Linked DNA regions of Homo sapiens: regions 1 and 2 are each linked to region 3. The links are contacts of gene promoters, found by promoter capture Hi-C in blood cells and fetal thymus (Javierre and others, 2016). All regions are on one chromosome and are shown on one strand. Each heading gives the region's core, a stretch centred on a gene start or on the middle of the fragment in contact. The rest is flanking DNA. Distances are from core to core; before and after follow the strand shown. Region 1 overlaps CEP57 (centrosomal protein 57). Region 2 overlaps CEP57 (centrosomal protein 57). Region 3 holds the start of MAML2 (mastermind like transcriptional coactivator 2).

Region 1 (3,614 bases), core at 774-3,273, 550 kb after region 3:
TCTAGTAAAGAACAGAGCCCCAAGCAAAGCCTTGATTTCAGCCTTGTAAGGCTCTAAACAGAGGACCCAGATAAGCCTACACAGATTTCCGACCTACAGAAAACTGAGATAACAAATATTTAAAGCTAAGTTCATGGCAATTTGTTAAGGCGACAAGAAAACTAATACAGATGGCAGGTTCCAGGAATAAATGTATTTCAAAGTAGCCAGAGCAAAGGATGGGAAAGGAAAAAACAGAAGACAAGTTAGGGATGAAGCTGGTGAGGCATATAGGGTCTAGGTTATGAAAAATTAAGAATTTATTATGTAAGCTATGAAGAGATGCTAAAGCTTTAATTTTGTGGGAGAGATGATGGATAATGACAAATGACAGAAATGTTGTTAACTGGGGATGAGGAGGAGAAAACAGGCAGGGAGATTAATGAGGAATGTACTATGAACATCTGGGCTACAGATGATGAAAGCCTGAACCAAAGCAATGAGAACACAAAAAGGCAGAAAAAACAGTATGCTTTTGGTATATTTCAGAAGCAAAAAAAGGTCTTCATTCCGGACTAATAGTGGGGATTACAGAGCAGTCACTGATGACTCAAAGTGTTTTAGCATCAGTAATTTGGTGGATGATGATGTTCAACAATCAATATAAGGAATACAAGAAAAGCATAATATTTTCTGGGGGCTGAAACTGGAAGCAAAGGGGAAATATATTTTCCTCTAATGGCAAAATAATGGAGGACAAAGTTAAGAATTTTAAAGCAGCAAGAAAACACAAATAACATTTATTTCGTTAGGCTCGATTACCTCTGCTGTTGCTTTCTGGATAGGCAAGTGTAGGCTTACTTGGGGAGCGTCGTAGATCACTATTAAGGAAAGGCTTATCCGAAGGATATACTACATATGGAGATGAAGAATGCCGAACCATGCTTCCATTAGACCTTGATGGCTCAGCAAAGCTGTTCTAAAAAATAAAGACACAAATTACCTTTCAAAAGTGTGAACCACAAATAGCAGATTTAAATCACAAATATTTATGACTGAGATTGACTGTCCATACAGACAACAGAAAAAATCCACTGACTAGAAACAATACAATTCAATCATTAAAGAAATACAACTTTTAAAGTGTTTCATATTAGTCTGAATATAGCCATATGCCAGACACAAGAAGAAAATAATGTTCATACAACTTGAATACAAATGCTGTGCAGAAATACTTAAATGATACAATGAATGTAAATACCGCAGTTAAAAATATATACTGTGAAATATACGTTCAGAAAAATAAAAACATTATTTTTACAGGACCAGAAACTGCTACAAATGACTGAATTACTCTATTCCCCATCCACAAACTACTACTTGAATATTTATAGTATTCAAAACTCCAGAAAGAAAATAAGGCACTGTCCTTGCCTCAAATACTTTACATTTAATTAACAAAAAAGAAAATAATTAGAAAACATTAAGGCCCATCAAACACTCAAACATAAAACTTTATTTCCACAGTACACCATTCTGTCATGAATGAGATTCTGTTAAATTTAGGATTCCACATAATAATTTCAACCCAGGAGATGCTAACTGTGGAGTTTTATTTGTTGTAGGCGACTTCCTACTGACAGATGGTCCTAGACTGGGGGAAGTAACTAAGAAGCTGAGGGCTAAGGTGGAAGATATGACTACCAGCTATTCAAAATGTTCATCCACTTTCCTTCCTCAAACGGCCACAGCAAACTATGTTTTTCAATTCTTACCTTTGAAGATTTACATTTACCAGAATAATCCGTGTTCATAAAAGTACAAGAGCACAATGAATATTTAAAACAGTAAACAATCTCCTGAAACAAAGGCTATCGAAATACCTGCACTGTATTTAAATCTTATTTAAAATTAAAGATTTTACTTCCATGTTAAAAATCATGCAAATTTCCAGGTGATTTAAGAAAGCAAATATAAAACATTTTCTATTTATATAAATATAAAACACACTATGGCTATGACAATCAAAAGTGGGGACAAAGAGCTTAGGAGGGTAGGGCCAAGTCTTAAAAGTGGTACTCAAATAAATAAGTGCTAAGTCTACTATAGTATGTTCATATATAACAAAGACTAGTATTTGTCATTTTCCAAACTTAATGGCAAATTGGCATCTGGTTTTACAGGTAACTGGAAAATAGGATGAGTTTTCAATTCTTTATAATATTGTCAAAGGTCTTGCAAAGCATCCTCAATTACTGCATAGCTTAATTTTAAATGTCACAGAGAACCTCAAGTTTTCATTGGTTATTTACAACCCACCAGAATCCTATCATTTAATATTCAAAAATATTAAGTGACTTGCCGACCACCCTCTGCCCAGTCAGGGGAATCCCATTAACTATGTGATTAACTAACAAACTAGTTCCCCAAATGGAACTACCTCTGTTCTACATTTTGTATGTTAGTGGGCTTGCCCTTTACTATTTTATATCACTCCTCATGACATATACATTTTTATTATCTGTATGCCCTGTGGTATAATAAAAAATATATTTAGTCTTTTGTCCTTGGTTTCAGATACAGATTCAAAAACTCCTAGAATTTCTTAAGTGATAGGGTATCCTTGTTAGGCTGATGAAGGGACTCAAGGTAGGGCACCTAGGTAGCTTCAGGTTTGAAGGCATCTTCTGGAAGCTGGTTGCCAGAAAAACCAACCACTAGATTATAAAGAGCTACAGATTTCAGCCAGGCATGGTGGCTCATGCCTGTAATCCCAGCACTTTGGGAGGCCGAGCTGGGCGGATCACTTGAGGTCAGGAGTTCGAGACCAGCCTGGCCAACATGGTGAAACTCTGTCTCTAACTAAAATACAAAGAAATTAGTCAAGTGTGGGGGTGTGCCCTGTAATCCCAACTACTCAGGAAGCCAAGGCAGGAGAATCACTTGAACCCAGGAGGTGGAGGTTGTGGTGAGCCAAGATTGGGCCACTGCACTACAGCCTAGGCAAGAGAGTGAGACTCCGTCTGTGTGTGTGTGTGTTGGGAGGGGGGTGGGGTGGGGGGGAAGAGTCACAAATTTCAGCCCTAGGCCCTGACCTTAGGGGAGGTAAGGGACAGATTGAGCCCAGTGACCAGCGGACAATAATTTACTCAATTATGTATTTATGTAATGAAAGCTCAATGAAAACTCTTGAATAATGAGGTTTGGGGAGCTTCTAGATTGTTGAACATACTGATATGCTGGGAAGGTGCTGCACCAGAGGATACAGAAGCCCTTTCACACCTTGCCCTATGTCTCCTCCATTTGGCTGTTTCTGAGTTGTGTCCTTTATAAAACTGAAATTGCTTAAGAACAGTCTTTCCTGAGTACTGTGAGCCGTTCTTGGAAAGCTGCAGGAATCCCATAATTTGTAGTCAGCTGAGCAGAAATGCAGATGCTCTGCGAACTCTGACTGACTTGGGGGCAGGCAGTCTTGTGAAACGGAGCCCCTTAATGTATGGGGGTCTGAGCAACATCTGGGCAGTGTCAGAATTAAAATAATTGTAGTACACCCAGTTGGTGTAGAATTTTTGCTGGAGAAATTAAGTTCTAATAAAGGAGTTTTATTATGTTCAATAAATCTGTTGAATATTAAC
Region 2 (3,492 bases), core at 532-3,031, 520 kb after region 3:
TTGCTGACCACCTCTGATACATCTATAGCTGATCTCTCAGCCTCTCTGCCTTGATCCCATTACCCTACCCCTAGTCACTACAGTAATCTCTTAAATATATGAATCATGTTTCTCTCTGGTTGAAAACCCTTGAGTGTGATGTCACCACTGCATCTGGTAGTACTACATTGTTGGCTGATATAAAATGATTAGCAACATAAATATATTTCACATATTTAATGTATGACTTATTCCTTTGGAAACAGAATTTCGCAGGTGCTTTTAAAAAAACTTACTTGGATAAACTCCAATTTAAATTCATCAAAGAAGTTAAAGCTTATTCATAAAGAATATTAAATATATTCAGTATTTGAAAGATGTTTCTTAGATGAATATGCTAAGTGACTAAAAGTGTCTTCTTTCTTAATCCACTTACCAATTCTCAATGAACAAATGTCTTCAGTAAAGAAGTATCTCCTGTAGATATTTATCTATGATACACTTAGTGTCATCATTTAATATTTGAATTAAAGTGTTTTTTTTTTCTTAATCATTAGAAACTTGAGTGAAGGAAAACTGAGTTACCTGGGCTTGGTATTTTCGAACTTTAGTTATTTGGTTGGCTTTTGCTTCCATCCTTCCCACTAATGCCTCCAATTCACACTCCAACTTGTCTTTCAGTTCAACGGTTGGCGACTCCTGGATAAGTTTTGCAAGCTGCTGGTGATCACTATATACAAAGCAGAAGTAGAACATGGTTAAGTTTTCTGTGTTTCATGGTTAGGTCTATTATACCTCATTATGGGTTACTGCTCCATGTGTTTAAAAAATGACTCCATTTTTTGAACAGAGCAATAAATTTTTTTTTTTTTTTTGAGACGGAGTCTTGCTCTGTCGCCCAGGCTGGAGTGCAGTGACATGATCTCGGCTCACAGCAAGCTCTGCCTCCCGGGTTCACGCCATTCTCCTGCCTCAGCCTCCCGAGTAGCTGGGACTACAGGCGCCTGCCACCATGCCTGGCCAATTTTTTGTATTTTTAGTACAGACAGGTTTTCACCCTGTTAGCCAGGATGTGATATGCCCACTTCAGCCTCCCAAAGTGCTGGGATTACAGGTGTGAGCCACCATGCCTAGCCTAGATCAAGAAATTTTTAATTAAAAATATGAATTTAAAAGTTCAAGAAAGGCACTAGAGGGAAATGCAAGAGTTCTTAATTTCAAGGTTAATTCTTTATATTCTTATTTTCCCCAAAAGAGTATTGTATATGTAAAGTCTACAGATGAATCTTGCTCTTCAAACACTCATGTCTTATCAGTTAAGTTTAGCTAAAATGAATGTGATGTCAGGTGCCAGATGATGATGTAGTAAACAACAGACCACATATACAACAGTGGTCCCGTAAGACTTTAGTATCATATTTTTACTCTACCTAGATGTTTATATACACAAATACTTACCATTGTGTTACAACTGCATATAGTATTTAGTAGTAGAGTAACATGCTGTATAGGTTTGTAGCCTAGGAGCAATAAGCTATAAGCTTAGCACACTCTTATGTTAGCACAAGGAAAAGAAAATCGCCTAATGATGTATTTCTCAGAGCACATCTTTGTCATTCAGTGATGCATGACTGTATATCATAAGTTCTCAAAGAAATAAAACTTAAATATAAACCTTGGTCTTCAAAACATTTAACAGTATTTAAAAAGAGAGAGATTTTACCCTTATTAGTTGTATTTGTTAAAGTCCCAGTAACTTGGTTGGTATAAGGATTGTGCTCAACCATACTTGCTCAACAAAGGAAAGTAAGATTTAATAAAGTCAACAAGTTTTTAAAAAATGAGGTTTTAGAGCTAAACTGAATTTAAAAAAAAAAACAAAAACTCACAAGCTCATTTGCCCAAATTCATCCTGTAAAGTCTGTAAGACTTCTGACAACTCCTCATTAATACCGTTGGAGGAGGGAGGTGTTACTGACAACTTCTTACTTTTACCACCTCGTGAAGATACTTGCTTTGCCAAAGGAATACTGTTGATGACTCGATCATTGCACAAAGCTTTACTGTGTTGCTTCATTAGATGCAAGACAAGCTGAACATTGGCTACCACGGCATGGCTAGGGCTTGTGGACTAAAGGAAGAAAAATGATGAAAGAAGTAATTGAAGTTATATTCTCTACACCACTTTCTATTCCCTAAGCCTAGGTAAAAAGAACTCTCCACCCCCTAAAGTAGAGTATATAAATCCTAAAATTATTCTCATCATGATGTTCTTCTATTTGAAATCCTTTGATATAAATCCACTAACTATGTTTCAGAATGGAAAATAAGGCCCTACATACACATCATTGAGCTGCAACCTACATTTCCTAGCCTCATGTCCTATCATCCTCCCCTTCTCTCCATTTTGTGAACAAACCATATTTGCAGATGACATTTTTTTGGTGTATTAGCAACATTTATATCATTCTTTAAAACCCAGTTCAAATATATTATTTTTAAAGGCTTCCTTAAAACTGCCAGGTAATCAATCAGTCCATTATCAGATCACCTATAACACTTTTTACATCTCTCTCATAGCATTTATCATATTTTAATTGCTTTTACATATCTATTTCACCTATTAAACAGTGTACATCCAGGTGGTAGACACTATTGTTCATTTCTGTATCCTGGAATAATAGGAAGCACTAAATTACATGTCTATCACGTGTGTAAGAAAAACCTGATAGACTTCTCAAAGATATTTTGCTTTTGTTTTAAACACTAAACCAACAATCTCAATGTACTATTCCACTTTATAAATAGATGGCTGGGCTTACTTGGCTCCATAAATATTATTAGAAAGCATATTTAAAATGCAGGTTCCTAGGCAGCACACCAAACTCACTGCAGAGTTAGGGTTTGGAAATTTGTGTTTTCAAGTCCTCCAGTTGATTTTGATTAGCCAGATTTGGAACCACCATGCTAAGCTAAACATATGCTTTCCTTCTAATCTTAGTTTCTATTGTTAGCTAGCAAAGTGAATGCAGCAGTATTATATATCACATCCAAGTGGGAGTTTATTACATCAATGCAAGGCTGGTCCACTATTCAAAAATCAATCGATGTAACCACTATTTTGCTCGTAACTTGTAATATATATTTAGCATACTAATTGCCTATGAGTACACTTTCAATATGCAATAATTTAAAAAATTCTCGTTCTGTTATTTTTCTGATTATATTAATATGCACTTGACCCTTGAACAATGGAGGGGTTAGGGGCACCGACCACCCATGTAGTCAAAACTCTGCCATAATGAAATTTTTTTTTCCTTCAACTTTTAAGTTCTGGCGTACATGCGCAGGTTTGTTATATAGGTAAATGTGTGTCATGGTGGTTTGCTGCACAGATCAACCCATCACCTAGGTATTAACCCCAGCATCCATTAGGTACTCTTCCTGATGCTCTCCCTCCCCGTTGACCAACTCCCCCACCAAACAGGCTCCAGTGTATGTTGTTCCCCACTA
Region 3 (3,309 bases), core at 411-2,910:
AAGCTAACAGGATTGGTGAAAATAAAATGGACTAAAGTAGGCTATCCTATAGGGAACTAAATTGCAAATAAATCCAGTATTGAGATGTTTGCCTTGATTTTGCCTATTTCTATCCATAGCTCAGTTTGAAACGACCATATTCGTGAAATGCCAGAGTTTGTTTAGATTACTGAAGGTATATTATTTGAGACCTCAAATCCAAATGACTTCCAAATTAGGATACCCAGAATATTTTTGGTCCTGACTGTTGCAGTATTATGCTCACCTTAATTTAATCTTCATAATTGAAAATAAGCAGAATCCACAATAAGTTTTTTTTTTTTTTTTGGAGACAGAGACTCACCCTGTTGCCCAGGTTGGAGCGCAGTGGCGTGATCTTAGCTCACTGCGACCTCCGCCTCCTGGGTTCCAGCAATTATCCTGTCTCAGCCTCCCGAGTAGCTGGGATTACAGGCGTATGACACCATGCTCAGCTAATTTTTGTAGTTTTAGCAGAGACGGGGTTTCACCATATTGGCCAGGCTGGTCTTGAACTCTTGAACTCAGGTAATACACCTGCCTTGGCCTCCCAAAGTGCTGGGATTACAGGCGTGAGCCACTGTGCCTGGCCAGGATTGGATATTTTAAAGGTTGGATCACTTGAAAATGGGGGAACAATGATCTGTGTGAGATCTATTTGGTTTCTATTATTAAACTTCTTGAAACTCAGAGCCAGGTGCAGTAGTGGTGAGTACCTGTAGTTCCAGCTACTCAGGAGGCTCAAGTGGGAGGATCACTTGAGCCCAGGAGTTCAACTCCAGCCTGGGCAACATAACAAGACTCCATTAAAAGAAAAAAAAAAAAAAAACTTTTTGAAACTCAGCTGCTACACATTGACTTTCCTCATTGTATATGTGCACCAGGTAGCTAAGGATACTTCAGGTCTTATATTTGGTTTTTCATAGGCAATCATGCATTCCCAAAAAAAAAGCGTTTTTTTCTAGAACTGGTATCGATAATTGTATCATTCTCATAAAATATTTTATTTATCCCAACTGATTTGCCTGTGATCACCCAGACTCACTTATCCAGAGACACACAAATGGGCAGGCAGGTAGACAAACGCTACACCTGCCTGCCCTTTAGGAGCTAACAATGTGATTACCTCTCCTCTCCACGCGCAACCCCTTCCGCCCTCAACACACACATTCATATCTTCCTTATTCTATTAATGAACATTTCCTCGGTGCTCACACAGCTCGTGCTAGGTTGCTCAGTGGTGTCATTTACAATATACTGAAAAATGAAAATGATATCCTCAGCGGGGCGTAATGTAGGGCTGAAAGGGAAAACACATTCCTGGCCCGGAATTTCTTAAACATTTAGAGCTGGTGAAATGGTTGTGTAGAGGTTGGGGAATTTCCCCAGCCTTCCCCGCTTAACCGAGTCTGATGCTGAGCTGAGCCAGGGCAGCTGAGATGCGCAGGGCTTGGGATTTACCTCTTCAGCCACTGGGAGGCCCTCTGCGTTCCCCTTTCCCCGGTGCCTGGCTGCGATTACTCACTCGCGCAGTGGCACCAGCCTTCCACCAGGGAGCCTCGAACGAGCTCTCCCGCCCTCTCCCCGCCCCCCCACCCCCATCTGCAGCTTGCTGGCTCTCTCTTTCTCCTTCTCTGTCTCACTCTCTCTCTTTCTCTCCCTCTCCTATCGGAGCACAATGAAAGCCTGTGTATCGCCGTGACTCCGGGCGCGAGCCAGTGTCAGCAAAGCGGCTAACAACAGACGAGAAAGAGAAAGGAAAATACAAGCTACTTTTTTTTTCCATCTATAAAGCGGAGCAAATACAGGAGATAGAACCAGATTGCTTATTGCGAGTCCAGACCCTCAGATCCACTGGCCGGGGATGGAATGTACAAAAGTGGACAGAAAAGTGGCTGGACATGACTCGGTGCAATTTGCTGGAAGTTTGTAAGTTTGACCATCGTTTGTAAATTACTCTCGGAAGAGTTTGTCTCTCTTGATACTGTATTAGAATAGAGCCGGGGGTGAGGAATAGAAACGTAAGCGGGAAAGAAAAAAATGTGTTGAAGGATCTCTCTCAGTGGCTAGCGACTTAAGATTGCTTTTCATTTAAGGCTAGGAAACCTTAGAGGGAGTGAGGATTTTACCGGTGATTGGATTAGCTGAAGAAAAAAGCATGGTCCAAAAGTCCAATTACTGACATTGTTAACAGTTGAAAAGCTGTCTCCCTCTTTTGGGAGAAGACAACATCCTACAGTACCCCAAAGAGGAGAAAACACCGGAGCGAAAGGAAAGGGAGGAAAAATTAAAAGCCAAAAGACAGTCTCCCTTGATTTTTGCACATTTTGAACAGTGACTTAAACATCTTCTGAAACAGCACTGTTTTGTTTTGTTTTGGTTTTTTATTTAACCTGAGGAAAAGTCAAGGCTGCTGGTTACATAGACATGGTAGAAATGTGTTTCTCTGCAGAAACATCCCCATAAAGAATTGTCGGAAACAACTAGGTGAGGGGGAGTCCTCTCTATTAATACCTCTCTCAATACCTTTTGCTGTGTGTTTCTGTCTCTTGCTGGACAATCCCTGAATTCTTGATCTAACCCCCAGATCGTGTGTTTACAAAGTACCTAGTGGCTCTTGTCAGCTTGGTGGAGGAAAAAAAATCCACCAACTCTGTCCAACTTCTCCAGAGCTGTCAAATGCAATTAGAGTAAGTTAATCAGGGTTTGTTTCCAACTTATCCTCCCCCCAGTTGGTTTCTATTCTTTCTCCCCACCCTCTTTTTACTAACTCCCCTCCCCCACAACTTCTCCACGGCTCCCCCACAACCTCTGAAGACCTCTATTCATGTGGCCCTGAACACTGAGCTCACATTGTCAAAAACAGACTTGCCTGCAATAGCCAGCAGTAGCCTCTTTCCACCTCACCATCCCAGAGGCAGCAATCATTGTGTCCGGTAAGATGGGGGACACAGCGCCCCCGCAGGCCCCCGCAGGAGGGCTAGGGGGGGCCTCTGGGGCGGGGCTCCTTGGAGGGGGCTCAGTCACCCCGAGAGTGCACAGTGCTATCGTGGAGCGCCTCCGGGCTCGGATCGCTGTCTGCCGCCAACACCACCTGAGCTGTGAAGGACGATATGAACGAGGTAGGGCCGAGAGCTCAGACCGGGAAAGAGAAAGCACCTTGCAGCTCCTGAGCCTTGTACAGCATGGCCAGGGGGCAAGGAAAGCTGGCAAACACACCAAGGCCACCGCCACTGCTGCCACCACTACAGCCCCTCCACCGCCCCCTGCTGCCCCTCCTGCGGCCTCCCA

Evidence for each region. The method cuts DNA at HindIII sites, captures the fragments that hold promoters and counts their contacts. A CHiCAGO score of 5 or more calls a contact.
Region 1: a contact is called between a fragment that was not itself captured here and the fragment with the promoter of MAML2 in region 3, in 2 of 17 cell types (total B cells and fetal thymus). The highest score is 5.3, in total B cells.
Region 2: a fragment that was not itself captured here is called in contact with the fragment with the promoter of MAML2 in region 3 in 3 of 17 cell types (activated CD4 T cells, fetal thymus and total B cells); the score reaches 5.6 in activated CD4 T cells.

What each region holds. Positions count from the first base shown.
Region 1 is chr11:95,796,576-95,800,189 of GRCh38, reverse strand. CEP57 (centrosomal protein 57) reads right to left here. Exons shown (of 11, transcript NM_014679.5): 2 at 802-958. Among named protein-coding and RNA genes, the nearest start is that of CEP57, 7.9 kb to the right of the region's middle. The HindIII fragment of the contact is 3,381 bases long and covers 333-3,614 here.
Region 2 is chr11:95,826,404-95,829,895 of GRCh38, reverse strand. CEP57 (centrosomal protein 57) reads right to left here. Exons shown (of 11, transcript NM_014679.5): 9 at 1,869-2,110; 10 at 565-709. Among named protein-coding and RNA genes, the nearest start is that of CEP57, 38 kb to the right of the region's middle. The HindIII fragment of the contact is 517 bases long and covers 1,523-2,039 here.
Region 3 is chr11:96,341,546-96,344,854 of GRCh38, reverse strand. MAML2 (mastermind like transcriptional coactivator 2) reads left to right here and starts at 1,660. Exons shown (of 5, transcript NM_032427.4): 1 at 1,660-3,309. The coding sequence starts at 2,960. RefSeq lists silencers at 1,477-1,666, 2,784-3,043. The HindIII fragment of the contact is 8,013 bases long and covers 1-3,309 here.